Linked DNA regions of Homo sapiens: region 2 is linked to region 1. The links are contacts of gene promoters, found by promoter capture Hi-C in human tissues and cell types (Jung and others, 2019). All regions are on one chromosome and are shown on one strand. The core of a region is centred on a gene start or on the middle of the fragment in contact, and the rest is flanking DNA. Distances in the headings are between cores, read along the strand shown.

Evidence for each region. Contacts are between HindIII fragments. The study calls those that stand out against the background at their distance.
Region 2: the fragment with the promoter of SCG5 here is called in contact with the fragment with the promoter of KLF13 in region 1 in 1 of the 25 tissues and cell types used here (mesenchymal stem cells).

The regions. Positions count from the first base shown.
Region 1 is chr15:31,323,634-31,331,274 of GRCh38, reverse strand. It overlaps KLF13 (KLF transcription factor 13), which reads right to left and starts at 4,440. Exons shown (of 2, transcript NM_015995.4): 1 at 3,486-4,440. The coding sequence starts at 4,062. RefSeq lists enhancers at 1,044-1,608, 4,718-5,231 and a promoter at 4,259-5,315. The HindIII fragment of the contact is 14,180 bases long and covers 1-7,641 here.
Region 2 is chr15:32,636,775-32,644,415 of GRCh38, reverse strand. It overlaps SCG5 (secretogranin V), which reads right to left and starts at 2,706. Exons shown (of 6, transcript NM_001144757.3): 1 at 2,638-2,706; 2 at 598-830. The coding sequence starts at 823. ARHGAP11A-SCG5 (ARHGAP11A-SCG5 readthrough) reads right to left here. Exons shown (of 14, transcript NM_001368319.1): 10 at 598-830. ARHGAP11A (Rho GTPase activating protein 11A) reads right to left here. Exons shown (of 12, transcript NM_014783.6): 12 at 4,475-7,641. The coding sequence ends at 6,571. RefSeq lists enhancers at 1,934-2,572, 2,573-3,213. The HindIII fragment of the contact is 11,081 bases long and covers 1-7,614 here.

The DNA of each region.
Region 1 (7,641 bases), core at 3,191-5,690:
TTCTGCAGGAGGGAAGGCTGGGCACGCCACTGTGCCCACCTTTCCATGGGACCCCCAGAACCCAGAAAGGGCCCAGCATGCAGAGAGATGTTTTGACTCCAGCGCTGGAGGGAAAACAGGGCACAGAGCAGTTTTGAAAACAATTCTCTGTGGGAACAAATAGGTAGAAATGTATTCAGGGTCTCTCTGCCAAGAAAGACCAAGTGGCCATTCTGCTGGGGGCCTGCCAAGTCTCCCCATTCAGGACAACACGCAGGACTCTCCAGAGGCAGGATCTGGGCAACCAGTCTGCCCTCAAGAGGGCCCCAGCCTGACCTATCGAAGGTGAGTCCTTGAATTCCTGCATCAAAGCACCTCAGGTTCCAAGAAAATCTGCTCCTGGTCTTGCTGCTCCCCTAAGCCCCTCTTAGCAAACTTTCCAGGTCTGGACTCGGAAGTTCTAATTGGCCAAATAATAAAGTAGCACGAGCTGCAAAGATGTTTTTCTTGGTTTTGTGTTATTACGCATTGTTATAATATCAACAATTACCTAAATGTGACAGAGACCAATGTGTCCACAGGATAACTCCTGGAAGAGTGGGAGTGGGAAACCACACTGCTACACAGCTAACCAGGACAGAAAGCTCTTAGCATGCAGCTGTTCAGAGAGTGGGGGTGGAAAATCAGAGCAGAGCCACGGCCAAGGGACCACAAGTGCCTCCAGAGTCAAGGCTGACCCTTGCACTTCTCAAAGGGTCTTCACATACTTGACCTCATGTCCCTGAAGACTTTGCAGGTGGTCAGGGCAGACATCACCAAGTTGCAGGGAGATCTGGGAACCGGTCCCTGGTCACATAGAGGAACAGCACAGAGCAGCTGGCCACCTTCCTGGTTGTGATATTCACCCTCTGCCATGAAATTACTGTGGATCCTGGAAATGCGGGAAGTGGGGCGGGGGCACCTTCCCGAGCCTAATGGAGTACGGGGCCCGGCATGACCTCAGTCACTGACTGCAGAGACCCCACAATGCTGCTAGAGGCCCACAAACCACGGACACCTCAGAGCCCACGGCTGCAGCAAAGCCATCACCTTGTGCCCTGCCTTCTCAGTCATCCCTGAGGCCTGCCTGGGTTTCTCCCTTCTGCAAGATGCTCTTTTCTCCCCCAACAGCAAGCTCCTCTTCTCCCTTGAGGAACACCAGTTACTTATGCTCTGCACACCTGGGAAGGGGCTGGAAATGGGCTTCCCAGGGGTGCCCTCCACCAGATGCTGAACCAGACTCCCTCCAGAGGCAGGTTTCTGGGCAGTTCAACTCTCATAATGGGTCACCTGGGGTACCGGTAACATGCACTCCCAACTGCACGCTGGAACTGTGTGTACTAGGTCGGCATCAGGGGCCCGGAAATCTGCATTCTTCCCAACTCCCCGCCACCCCGCTGCCGGAGCCCTGTGCACTTCCAACTTGGAGGCCGGCTTCCACCCTGGAGGTAGGACTTCTGATGTCTGCACACCTGAAGGGTGGAATAGTTTCTCTGCTTCAAGAACGAGCACTGTAGCACACTGCAGACACTCAAAGGGTTGGTCCCGTGCTCTTTTGCCTGCCTTCGGTTTCCAGGCGCTCCGAGGAAACTGGCCCCACCTACAGCGGGAGGCCCGGGTCTCCAGAGCCCCTGCGCCAATATTCTAGTCAAGAGGCTCGCGCGGGGCCAGAGCCTGAAGCGGGAGATGAACCCACCAGGAAGACATCCCAAGGCTGAGGCCCTGACAAGCCGGCCCCGCCCACGACGGCGAGCCCCTCCCCTCGGCCACCCCCCTCCTCAATTCCCCGCTACCGGTGCTGCCGAGTGGCAGGCCACCCTGACAGAGGCCGTAGAAAAATTTCCCAAACATTAAGTATCCTGCCCAGCACGGGCATCATCCCCCAAAGCGGATCTCAACCCCAGCCACGCCCCAATCGCTGCCCCCACCCGATACTCAGGATCCACCTGGAGCCGAGCTGAGCCTAGCCTGGCCCCTCCCCCAGGGCCACACCCACCCTGCAGCCGCGTCCCGAGCTGAACTCTGAGCCCACACTGACTCCCACCCCCAACCTGAGCCCCCACACCCTTAACTGACCCCGAATGCCTAGAAATGGCCCCGCTCTCACCCTCTACCCCATCACCTGCCACGTGGTTTGGAGCGGCCACAAAAGCCTCCCTGGGGAAAGTTAGTCCGAGATCTGAAAGCCTCACCTGCAGACCTTGGGCCCTTTCAGTTCCAAATGGTAAAAAAAAGGGGCCTTCAGCTCTAGGGTATCCAAGGCTGCAGCTTCTTTTTATGCCTTTTAATCACTATGTGAACTATTTTACAAATGAGAGACCACCACCCTTGGTCACAAGACAACAGTATTCAGTAGACGGGTTTTGAGCCTGCCCCCAAGGTAGAAGAGGTGAGTGTCACAGAAGAACTCACGTGAGCTCAGAGGAAGCATACAATTCTTTACACCAAAATGGGGAAGGATTGCCGTCCATTAAAATATTTTCATCTTTATGTTAAAAACGAAACAAAAAGGGGGGAGGGAACCGCCACAGATGAATCAACTACAAAGTATCGGGCCGCGCGTGGGAACTGTTGCCGCTGGGCTGGCGGGGGCGGGCGGTGATCCCCAGGCTGGAGGCTCAGCGCCCGCCCTGGTGCAGGTGCCGCCCGCCCCGCACCGGCCCAGGGCAGGTGAGAGGTGGGCAGGCGAGAGGGCAGCACGGAGGATGGGCAGCGGCCAGGGCATTCCTTTCCGGAGAGAGCCTCGAGGCCGAGGAGCCTAGGGCCGGGCGCGCCCCCGCCGGGCCGGATGGGCGGGGGCTCCCACAAAGAGCCGCAGGCGGGGAGCGGGACCCGGGACCGCCCCCCGCATCGCCAAGCGCCGCCGCTGACTTTGGTTACGACAAATTAAACCTTAGAGCGCTGGAAAAATTACAGGAAGAAGAGAGCGAAGAATGTGCCGAGTGGCGAAGGAAACCTTGTCCCTGCGTGAACTTCGCCCGCCGCGCGCCGGGGCCGGCCCCTCCCCTCCTGAGCGCGCGCCCGGGCAGCGGGGGAGGAAACGAGGAGGGACCCCGGAGAGCGTCCCCTGCCCCCGCTCCGGGCGCCCCACCGTCACGAGTGCCGCCTGCGGTCCACACCCAGGCCGCCCGCACCTGCCCGCGCCGCCTCCCGGCCGGGAGGGGTCCCCGCCCCCAGCCCAGATGACTATATCCGCCCCCGCGGCCCCACCCGAGCGCGCCCGGGGAGGGGGCGTGCCCGGCGGGGGCGCGGTCGCCTGGCGGGCGCCGGCTCCGAGAGCCAAGACCCGCCTCGCGCGACGCGCGGGGCCAGCCGCGGGTCGGAGCGGCAGGGGAAGGGGCGAGGCCCCGGGCGTTCCGGCCCGCCCGGCCCCCACCTCGCGCCCCATCGGGGACTCCGGGGGCGTGGTCGGGCAGCTCGCGCCGACCCCGTCCGCGCGATCCGGGCGCCCGCGCCGCCCCACTGACCTGTGTGAGTTCTCAGGTGCGCCTTGAGGTGCGAAGATTTCCCGTAAACTTTCTCGCAGCCCGCGTAGTGGCACTTGTGCTTCCTCTGCGGGGACTCGAGGTCGGCGCGACTTCGGCCCCGCCGGACCCTTTGTCTGAGGCCGGGCTCGCCGCTCCCCGCGGGCCCCGGCTCCCGCTCGGGCTCCAGCCCCGCCTCGGGCTCCGGCTCGCTCCACGCCGGGCTGGGGGGCGCGGCCGCCGCGCCTTCGGCGCCGGGGGAGGTGGGCTCGGGGGCGGGCGGCGGCAGGCGGCAGGGGGTCCTCGCCTTCCGGGCCGCGGCGCCCTCCCTGCGCTCCGCCGGGGCGGGCGCCGGCGCTTGCTGGTTGAGGTCCGCTAGGATCCGCGCCACCACGAAGAGCGAGGCGCTGTCCTTACCGTCGCGGCGCTCCTCGACGCGGGGCAGCGTGGGGGTGGCGGCCACGGCCGCGCCCTCGGGCCGGGACTCCGGCCCCTCCCGCGGCCCGTGCACGACCGCGCGGCTCGACATGGACACGAGGCACTCGGCGGCGAAGTGGTCCACATAGGCGGCGGCTGCCATGCTGCGGGCTGGGGCCGGCGGCGGTGCTCTTGCTGCGAGTCGTCAGCCGCGCATCCGCACCCACGGCCTCGGGAGAGCGGGCGGGGGGCGGGGGCGCGGCGCGCCCTCTCCTCGGGCTGGGCTGGGCTGGGCTGGGCGCGCAGCCGCCTGTGCCGTCACCCGCGCGGCTCCGCGTCTGCGAGGCGCCGGCCCGGCCGGGCACCGAAGAGTGAGCGCATGGGGCGCGCGGGCGACTGGGGTCCCCGCGCGGCGTCAGGGGCGGCCGGTTCTAAGGATGCCGAGCGGCAACGTTAGGGACCACCTCGCCAAGTCGCGGCCGCAGCTTCGCCGCGCATTGTGGCAGGCGGGACAGCTGCCGTGCGCGCCGCGGCTCCGTGTGGGCGGCCCGGCCCCGGGGGTGGGCGGGGCCGGGGCCACATCTGGACCCGACGTCAGCCCCCAGCCACATCCTGGCGGCGCAGGTTACAGGCGGCGGCGGCTGCGGGGAGCTGCGCGCGCGGAGGGGGCGGGGACCCCAGAGCGCGCACCGGCGGAACGGAGCGGTCGCGTGCCCGCGCCTGGGCAAGGGGGCGTGACCGAGGGCCGGGACAGACGCCATTGGTCCGTGAGTGCACGGCCAGGCCAATCCGAGCCGTTAGAGGGGCGTGCCCGGTCCCGGGCCCTGCGCGCGCCAGTGGGCGTGTCCCCTGGGCCGGTGGGAGGAGGGGCGGAAACTGGAGCGGGGCGCGCTGACGCATGACGTCCGGGGGCGGCGGGCCGGGTAGTCGCGGCGCGGAGCGGCTGCTTGTACCCCCCGCGGCGGGGACACAGCGAGCACTTCTCTGCCGGAGCTTTTATGTGGTGACAGCCTTGGCCCCCGGCATGGAGGGGAGCGGTTTCTGGAGGGCGCCATTTGTTCCTCCCGCGATGGGCGCCGGCGGGGAGGCGTGTCTGCCCGGCCGGGCGCGGGGCTGCCTAGGGGCGGAACGCACTCGCGCCGCGCCCTCCGCCGCCGGCTTGCCGGGTGGCCGCGCCTAGAGCCTCAGGCCGCTCGCCCTCCCCACGCCCCTGCCTTGCAGAGCTCCGGGAGTCCGGGCGGGGCAGCTCCCGCGGGAGGGACAGACTCGGGCTCGTTCCTGGGGTCCGGGGTGCGGCCGCGCTGCCCTTCAGCTCGGGTCAGCCCGAGCAGGACTGGCCTCGGCTGGCGGTGAGCCTGGCAGCCCGGGTGGCGCGCCCACCGCGGCCTGTGCCTCCAGAAGCGAACTACGTGCCAGGGCGGCCGGCGCCGCTGCTGAGGGAACGCGGGGCCCCTTCCTCCCCATCCCGCCGCAGGCCCGCTGCCAACTCTTCTAGGCTGCCCCTCTCCCACCGCGGTCGGGGGGGCTTCAAACGCCACCAGCTGCGAGGACCCCGCCCACCGCGCCCCACCCGCCCGCTGTCTGGGCCTCCCGGAGGAAATGCTCGGCTGCGCCCAGCCCGCGCCTCCCAGCCCGGGCTGGGCCACCTTGCCCTTGACTCTCACGGTAACCCCTACCCCAGCCCGCGGCCCCAGCCATTCTCCAGGCCTGGGCCGTCCTCGGAGACGCCGGTGAATAACTTCCCACCGCCGCGGAACCGGGCTCAGCAAACCCCCTACTGCCTCGCCCCGTTGCATTGTGCTTAATGGACGTTCGAAGGAGTCAGCCACCCTTGCTGTGTTCTGAGAGGAGCCTGGAGAATGAAGGAGCCCGGGCACTCACCCTCAGTGGACCCTCGCAGTGGGAGGGGGGTGTCATTCTTCTCTCAGAATTAAGGTTAATAGCCGAGTTCGAGTTCTCACCAAATTAATTTGGGGTTGGAGCTCAGTAAGACTGGTTTTCAGGTAACCGACGAGGGACCGAAACGGCCATTCTGGGTTGCGTGTTACGGTGAACAGCAAACTGCATGGATGTTTGAGCACCCTCAGTATCTGTAACTAAAACCCTGAAATGCGGTCTCGCTGATTGAGTTGCTACCCTCTGGGGAGACTAAAGGTGCTGGACTGGGTCTGGTCCCTTTAGGAGGGTCTGTGCTTGGTAGAAAGTAATCGTGTTTCTTCCAGGCAGATTGTGTTGATGACATTTAATAAGAGACGTGTGTCCTGACCAAGTAATGATTCGGAATGTTCCTCTATTCCCACCACATGTCACAATTAGTCACTTCTTAAGGAAGGAGTGGTCCTACACCAGCTTATCAGCCACCCATACCCTCCTGGCCCCTTTCCAGCCAGCAGAATTCTCCCCAATCTTCAAGGTGCCACGTCTCCCCACTGGGTCACCCCAGCCGGCATACACAATGGTAGGCCGTCTAGAGTCTGCACTATTCTAGTATTAGGCTACTACAGCCATGAACAAAACAGGCCTGCCTTGGGTGAGGGGATGCCCTACGTGGTCAAGGGTCCTCTGCATTGATGCACCCCCCTAAGAGTTTTCCAAGAATGTGGGTCCCAAAGAATTTTGACTGTGCTCTGTGGCATTCTGTATAGAAAACTGAGCTCCTTGGCTGGTTTCTCAAAAATCCACTCATTTGATGATTGTCGTGGTGTTCACTGACTTTATCCCAAACCTACATGGAAGGGTCTTCCGGACAGACAGCTCTTCCCCAAAGAAAATCTCCTCTTAGCTAAGAGTCCATGTTTTCTTTTCTAAGTAAGATTTTGACAGAGATGGCATATGTATATGTGAGGGCTGGGTCGTCTCGTTTCAAATGGAAGCAACAGAAAAGCAGAGCAGGTGTGTCTGGGGCGTATAGAGACTGAAGGCTGAAAGGGTGGTTGAGTTTCTGGGTAAAGTTGGTGGATGGTTAGTATGTATTGACTTTAACTTCCTTCTGGAGCATTTGTTAGAAGGCAGAAATCCACAAAGACAGGGAGAACAAGAGAGGAAGTAACAGCAACGCAGTTCTTGAAGCTAAAATACTTAGCAGATCCAAGAAAATGAAACCCTGAGATAGTAGCTAGGAAGGAAAGCTAAGAACATACTCCATGGAATCCCCCAGAAGGTTCACTAATGGGTGGCACTACGTACCTCTGAATGTGAGAGTAAACGGGGGTGAAAATAAGATTGGCAGAACGTCAGCTTGAGGAGCACTCAGATGCCCATATCTGCACCCCAATTTCATGCAGCCTGACAACTGCCCCTTCCTTGTTCTGACGAAAGGCTGGATATTTATGACCTGAAAAAACTAAAAGGCAGCGTCTTGGGTAGGTGGACACCAGGCACAATTAAGGACAGAGGTACGGTAATAGGATCAGGGGATTAAATACACACATGGATACTGGATGCTGAGACCCACAAACCCCTTTTTGGGATTTCAGAATGCAAGCAGCCAGGAGACTAGAAGGGTCTTTCCTGGGGTAGCCAACCATGCCAAGGGGAAACACCCAGACATTCTAACATTTGTGGCTGCCCAATTAAACAGCCAGCTCACCCTATAGGGAAGGCCACAGTTAACACTGCCACTCATGTGCACAGAAGTTCTCATCAGCCTCTCAGTCCCTCCCAGGCCAAGGACAAGCAGGGAGCCAGAGCTGACCGGCATCTCAGGAAACCCTGTGTCATGAAATACAAAGCCACAATAGAG
Region 2 (7,641 bases), core at 1,457-3,956, 1.3 Mb before region 1:
TTGTTATATTTTTAAATATTTTCAAAAGCTTTCACGTAAACTCTTAATGTCAGTACCTCTTTTGTCTCCTCTTGGGTATACTGGAGTCATTCCTAGGAATCAAGTCAGATCCTGTAGGTTCTACATTTTGAAGCTCTTTTACAAGTACTGGCTGGCATTGACTCAAAAGGCAGCTATCTGATGACACAATTTCCTGAAGATCAGCAGTGAGGAGAAAACATCATGTCTGGGTTCTAATCTTTCTTTAGTGATAACACTAGATGCTCCTTCATTCATTCAACAAACATTAATTGAGCACCTATTATGTACCAGACATTGTGCTAGGTGCTAGGGCTACAGCTATGAATTAGATAGATAAGGTCCCTGCTCTCACAGGACTTATAGTCTCATGTGGGTGTGTATATGTAAGTATGTAGACACTGTGTAGAAGAAGAAAGGGAAAACCATGAGAAAGTAGAGTCTCTTAAAAATTAGCTTCCTCCTCTGAAAAAAATAGGATAATAAAGGCATCTACTTATAAGGTTGTTGTGAGAAGTGTGCAAATATATTATTTAAAATGCTAACGGAAACTTCAAACCATCAGAACACAGTAAATACCTTCAATGCTCTGGGGGCCCACAAGATTCATGGCCTGGTGAGCTGGATATTCCACTCGGGGCCTGGCAATGCCCAATTGCTCCATAACACCATGAAGCAGCCTCTGGATATCTGCTTCTGAGACCCGGTCAGGGGTCCGGGGGCTGTAAGCAAATGCTGGAGTCCATCCAGATGCCAGCCAAAACAGTAGGCCAGATAGCATGGTAGAGACCATCCTGGAGACCATTGTCAACCTGCAGATAAAAGACCAAATGTATACTGATAGGCTACAATCGGCAATTGTGATAATACAATTATAATGATGCAACCACTCCAGGTTGTGGTTCGAGGACCACCCAGAAAGGGGTTGTAACAAAGAATCCTTAGGAGGTTGCTTTTGTCTTAAGTTTCCATGCTAGGCAGAGCATCATTGCAGAAAGGTATTAAACAAAACAGTTGCAGGTATCCAATTCCCTCTGTTTGCATTCTTGAGAAAGCTAGGCTGGAATGGCGGTTCTCACTCATAATTTTTATCCTCCTTGTAGCTCCCTGAAAGTTCTGCATTACTCCTAACTTCATCACTCTCTCCCTCTCTTACTAAAACAAATAAACCAAACTTGCTTACATTTTGAGAAAGAGATAGTGGCATCTTGGGTTTTCCCAGTCTCTGGGAATAAAAGTCTAACAGGAGGGAGTCAGGAAGACACAAATCAAGAAGCTCAGGAAGGTTGGGAGTGGTGGCAGGGAAACATTTCAGTTTAGCAAACATCCAATACGTTTGCGATCCTGAAAGGAAGGAAAATGTTCCTTAGATCCAGCCCTGCAATCTGCTGGGGTAGTTTGAGGTTTGTTTGCTCAGCCACATGCTGAGTGATCGTAGGCAAGTCCCTCAGTTTCCTCCTCTGCAAAACGGAGATAATTAAAGCATTTACCTTTTAGGGTTGTTGTGAGGGTGTGTGCAAATACATGTTAAGAGTGTTTAGGACAATGCCAGGCACAGAATGAGCCCCTATATTGCTATTATTATGTTGCTAACATTGCCTTAACAGTTCTGGAGGTTAGAATATGGGGAGGCAGTGGTGGTGAGAGGGAGTTAACTAGCCTGGGGGTGGGAGGGTCAACCTGTCCAAAATGTTGGTTTCTATGGGTATGTCTGCAAAACAAGTGAACATTATCCTTGCAGCTTACCCCACAGCTGCTTAACGTGTTTGGATGCATGCTTCAGGCAGCGGCCTTGCAAACCCTTTTTTTTTTTTTTTTTTTTTTTTTTTGAGACGGAGTTTCACTCTTGTTGCCCAGGCTGGAGTGCAGTGGCGCCATCTCGACTCACTGCAACCTCCACCTCCCAGGTTCAAGTGATTCTCCTGCCTCAGCCTCCCGAGTAGCTGGAATTACAGGCGCCCACAACCAAACCCGGCTAATTTTTGTATTTTTAATAGAGGCAGGGTTTCACCATATTGGTCAGGCTGGTCTCGAACTCCTGACCTCAGGTGATCCACCCCCTCCCCTCAGCCTCCCAAAGCGCTAGGATTACAGGCGTGAGCCACCAGGACCGGCGCAAACCCTCCTTCTAATCATTCTTCTACTGAGGATGGGGGATGGAGAGGTGGGAGGAGGCAAAATCGTGCATTTCCTTTACTGAAACAAAAATTTTTATACCCTCCAATTTCTTTTTCTGCAAAGAAAAGGCCTTTTCTAGCCACTAGATATAAAACCTTGCTCTCCAAAGAGCTGAGAGTAGCTGTTTAACAGCAAAATCTGCAATTCTGATGGAAAAGGCTGGAGGCAGACACGAGGCTCTCCATCTCCATCTTTCCCTTGTCCACTCTGAATGCAGGATGTCATCCCAGCAAACGCCGCTCTGATTTGATGAACTACACAATCTCCTCCCTCAGTACTCCCTTCCCCTTACTGATAGCCAAACATTCTAATCCCCTACGCATCCTTCGTCTGACCCCAGCCTCCACCTCAAGGATTTTAGCAGGACGCCCTCCCACAACTGGCAATACCAAATCTCGGGTTGGCGGCAGGCGGCCGAGCCGACATCAAAACTGTACTCACCGAGGGGCAGCCCGAGGAGCCTACTGCGGTATGGGCCTTGGTGGGGGTCAGGCCAGGAACGGGCGAACTGGAGAGCTAGTGCGTCACCCTCCTCCGCATCTTAGCTCCGCCCCGGCCCCTCCTCCAGCAGGTGGAAGCTGCCTCGCCAGGACTCCCCAGACTGCATCCCAGATAAGTGTGCCTCTCACCAGGAGCCGCACAGCTCTTCAACCCCCACATTCTGCATACAAACCTCTTGACTATGACATTTCCTAGAGACCCTCTTCAGCTCCATCGACCTCCATGTAAGTCATTCACCTCCTCAGTCTCAATTACAACGTGCCAGATCACCACTACAGCACACCTTTAATTTTGTCAACTTCTAGAATATGTTTTTTGTTTTTGTGTCTAAAGCCTTTCAGCTTCAAGAGGGAAGAGGCAATGAATGGTAGAGAGACAAAAGATGAAGTCCTAAGAACTTTTAATGGTGGCTATGATAAGGTATACCCTGCTCTGAGGGGCCTCTTACTAATCAGGAAAACTATGGGGATATTTAATACAAGAAGCCAGAAACTTCCATTAAAGTGATAAACTTGAAAATCTGTAGAAATATCAGCTCTGAGTGTTATTTCTAAACGTCCACACAAACCATCAAGTAAAATTCCACTTTGGCCTGAAGAGAAACCATACTCCCAGCATACTGTAGAAGTATGTCCAGGTAGTCCCAGATTCTTAAATAAGGGTTTATGGAGCACCTACTATGTGCAATCTTGAACACTGAAATTTGTTCAAATACTAAAATCAAAATGTAAAGCCATACAATAAATATGGCACTACAAATTTGATCAAGATGGAGGATGAGTAAAGAACCTGGGGGTCTCAAAACAAGTAACCTGATGAGGTTAGAATCCAGATCTATTTATCTTAGCTCTAGAGAGCAAATCCATTATCATCTACAGCAATTTTTATGCAATAAATAGAGGCTGGCAAAATTCATTTATGAGACACATGGCCTTTCATTTTGAAGCCAAGCCTCTTTCCCAGTACTTTTTCTTTCACGGATGCTCATCTGCTTCTTGCTTCTTGTTTCAATGCATGCTAAATCAACAGGACAAACACTATCCATTAAATGGCTCTAGGCTCACTGGCCATGCTGGAGTTAGTATTTATTATTGATGCACAGAGACTTTTTTCAATTCTGAGTTTTACTTTAGCTTTGTTCATTGTTATCTTCATTTTGTGGTTGAAAAAAATGAAGTCACTACAATTTACTGCTTTTGTGTTAAATTTAACTGAAATAGATCAAAATGCCTATGCTTCATTTGAAATTTGGTGTTTCAAAAATAAAACTTCATATATATTTAAGAGATCACAGAGGTTAGGTGCAGTGGCTCACGCCCATAATCCCAACACTTTGGGAGGCCAAGGTGGGAGGATCACAAGGTCAGGAGTTCGAGATCAGCCTGGCCAATATGGTGAAATCCCGTATCTACTAAAACTACAAAAATTAGCTGGGCGTGGTGGTGCATGCCTGTAGTCCCAACTACTTGGGAGGCTGAGGCAGAAGAATCGCTTGAACTCGGGAGATGGAGGTTGCGGTGAGCTGAGATTGTGCCACTGCACTCCAGCCTGGACGACAGAGTGAGACTCCGCCTCAAAAAAAAAAAAAAAAAAAAAAGAAAAGAAAACAAAAAACAAACTAACTAAAAAAGATCACAAAATTAAGGTTTAAATTCTGCCACAATTAAGAAAAACATGACTATTAAAATCCTACATTAAGTTCTTAGTGATCATATTATAGAATGTGGCCATGCAGTCTACTAAGTTCTATGTATTAAGTTGTTATTAGATAACCAAATTAATATTAGATCTTTATTTACATTTATAAGACAGTGAGAAGAACCCATGAGGTTACTGCACGTCCAGACACTTTCATATCATTTCCTCAAATATTCCATGAAGTTAGCAACATTATCTCTATTTTGTATAAGAAAAAATAAAAACGCATTAAATCAAGTTTAAAACAAAACTTTTCTGGCTCTCTAGTTACCCTACCTTCAAGCTAGTCACCTTCACATTCCTGTAATACTCCGTATAGCAGCTTTCAGCTAACAAAAATAGGAGTCACATGTGGTAGTTTTTAAAACAGACATGTTTCATTATTGATTCATCTCTCAGAAAAGCCAGTTCAGGTAGTATGTACAGTTAAACCCCTAGGACTTCTTACTGAATTAGTCTTCAAATTCAACATTTCATCCTTCCCTTGATGGATATAAAAAGACGTTAATGCATTTTTAAAATTTAAAAATTGTTTAAAGCAGACAACATATATCTGACTATATGAATATTTTGTCTCTACTTACAATTAGAAATGCCATAAACATCTACAAACCTATTTGATATCAAATAAACAAAGTAGAACCTAGCCAAGCAAACATCTGATGATTTGAAATTCCTCGTACATACTTATGCTGTAAGTCTGGTTGCTCCGAGTGGCATGAATGCTGCTCTAATCTGCTCCAACATCTAAACATGACATTCTAACAACCAATCTGAAAAACTACCTTTAGTGGTTGATTCTGTCTGCTTATTCCTTCCTCTACAACCTAGAGAATATGTTCTATTGTTCATAATACTCTTTCCTCAAAGATGTGTAATTTGTAATAATTTAAAATATAAATTTAGACAGATTTACTTGACAATTTGGTGCATGTTCTAAATGGCACTTTGAATTTCATGAGAGCCTTAGTCAAGTCATTTTCCAGAGAGTTATCTTTAATGTCTATGCTAAATAAATAACATTTACACACAGGACAAAATCATCATAGGTTTTTATCCAAGTAAAAAAGGTAAAGAGGTGCATCTACTATTTCAAATTCCAAAATCGAGCATCTACATATAAGAAATCACCTTGGTTAATTTTTTTCAAGATTATCCCTCTTTAAATAATTGCCAAATCTATATTGGACAGAACAGACACAAACGTGTTTGTGCAAATTATCTTTAAAAACATAGTATGGCTTAAAAGTTATCAATTATTTCCACATCATAATATATGAACATATTTTAGTCATTATTCTGCCTTAACCATTGTTCTTAGTTCGAGTGAACACAAGGTACACCTACTGGCACTATAAATGAAATTACTCTGCCCCAAATAAAAATAGAGTTTTAGGATGCTATTGAAGGAAATTAATTTCTAGGAATTTTGGCAAGGACAATAAACATTAATATAATTCCAGACATAAGATTTGCAGAGTTTATCTCTACCCTTTATATGCTAGAAATTTATTTATTTTAGAAACCTTATCTGACTTGGAGGAAATAGGCACAACTTGCTCCATTCTTTCTATCACACAAAAATATGTCATTTTCAAAAATTAACTTCTTATAAATCCAGTAAACAATTTCTTTAGAAAGGTAAAGTCTAGCCGGGCGTGGTGGCTCATGCCTGTAATCCCAGCACTTTGGGAGGCTGAGGCGGGCGGATCACAACGTCAGGAGATCGAGACCATCCTGGCTAACACGGTGAAACCGTCTCTACTAAAAATACAAAAAATTAGCTGGGCGTGGTGGCGGGCACCTGTAGTCCCAGCTACTCGGGAGGCTGAGGCAGGAAAATGGCATGAACCCAGGAAGTGGAGCTTGCAGTGAGATTGCGCCACTGCACTCCAGCCTGGACGACAGAGTCAGAAAGGTAAAGTCTAACCTCTGCTTTAAGAGATCACAATAAAATTAAAGTTTAAAAATTGCCATCATTAAGAAAAACAAAGAAGTAATTTGTACAAATAAAAATCTAAGTTGCTTGTACAGTGAAAAAAATGAAACATTTTCAATAGAGCAAATCTATTGCTTAACAATCATCCTGAGCTACAAACTAACATGTACATCATCCTGCAAGTCATACCAATTACTCACTTTATTTACATTAATGACAAGTATAACATTTACCAATTACAAATCTACAGGTTTACTTGTTGGTAGTAATTGAGTTTTTCCGATAGGATGTTTTGGAGAACCTTTGTACCAGGCCCTTCCTCTTTCTGATGGTCTCCTAAGGACCCTGTTATTTATCCCAGAAGAAATGCCCATGTTGTTATTTACAACTGGTTTTACTATATCATGATTAGTCAGATCATCCAAGGGAACCTTAACTTGGCCATCAGATAAGATCTTCTGTTTATAAACTGTAGTAGACCTAAGAGAAGCATTCACTGAATCTGGGTGCTTCCTCATCTTTAAGAAAGATTTCGAGGGTAACTCCATGCTTGACTTTGAAATTGCACCAATATTTGACTCTTCACATGACATGGACTTCTGTTCTTTAGGACCTGATTTGATACATGAAACAGAGGAATCTTTTGATGCACTTTCTATACAAGAGGAAAGAGCACCGTCACAGCTCACTGATTTGACCAAAGGAGAAGCTGTATCACCAAGACTCGCCAACTTATGCCCTGTAGGTTGTCTGCTATACTCCAACAAAGAATTAATTCTTCTGACGGACTGACGAACAGGAGTACGCTGAAACTTAAGAGGTGACTTGACTTTTATTCTATTTGGTTCATTTAAAGAAAGCTTGTTAAACCACTGTATGTGATCAGAAACCTTTCTATGTTCTGTCATTTGTGAACTTTCAGAAACTGTTTTCTCACATGTTTCCAATGACTGCTGTTTAGCAATTCTCATAGGCCTAGGTTTTGACAAGTTTGTTACAACACATGTACTCTGCTGTGAGAAAGAGGATCTAGCCTCGTCCTTGCTATGTGCTGCACACTTCGGTAAGTTACCTTCCATCATATTCTCATTCTCTTTTAATTTATTATTTAGTTTATCCTTTGGGGACTGCTGTTTCTTTATTTCTTCATCACTGGAGAATTCTTGCTTGCTTAAATAATCTTTTGGCATATTTGAATGAATGTCTTTTTCATGTTCCATCTTCATCTGAGTTGAATAACATTTTATAGTTGTTTCTCTATTAAATGTTTGAGTTTGAAGGGGTGAAAAGTCCCTCTCTGAAAAACA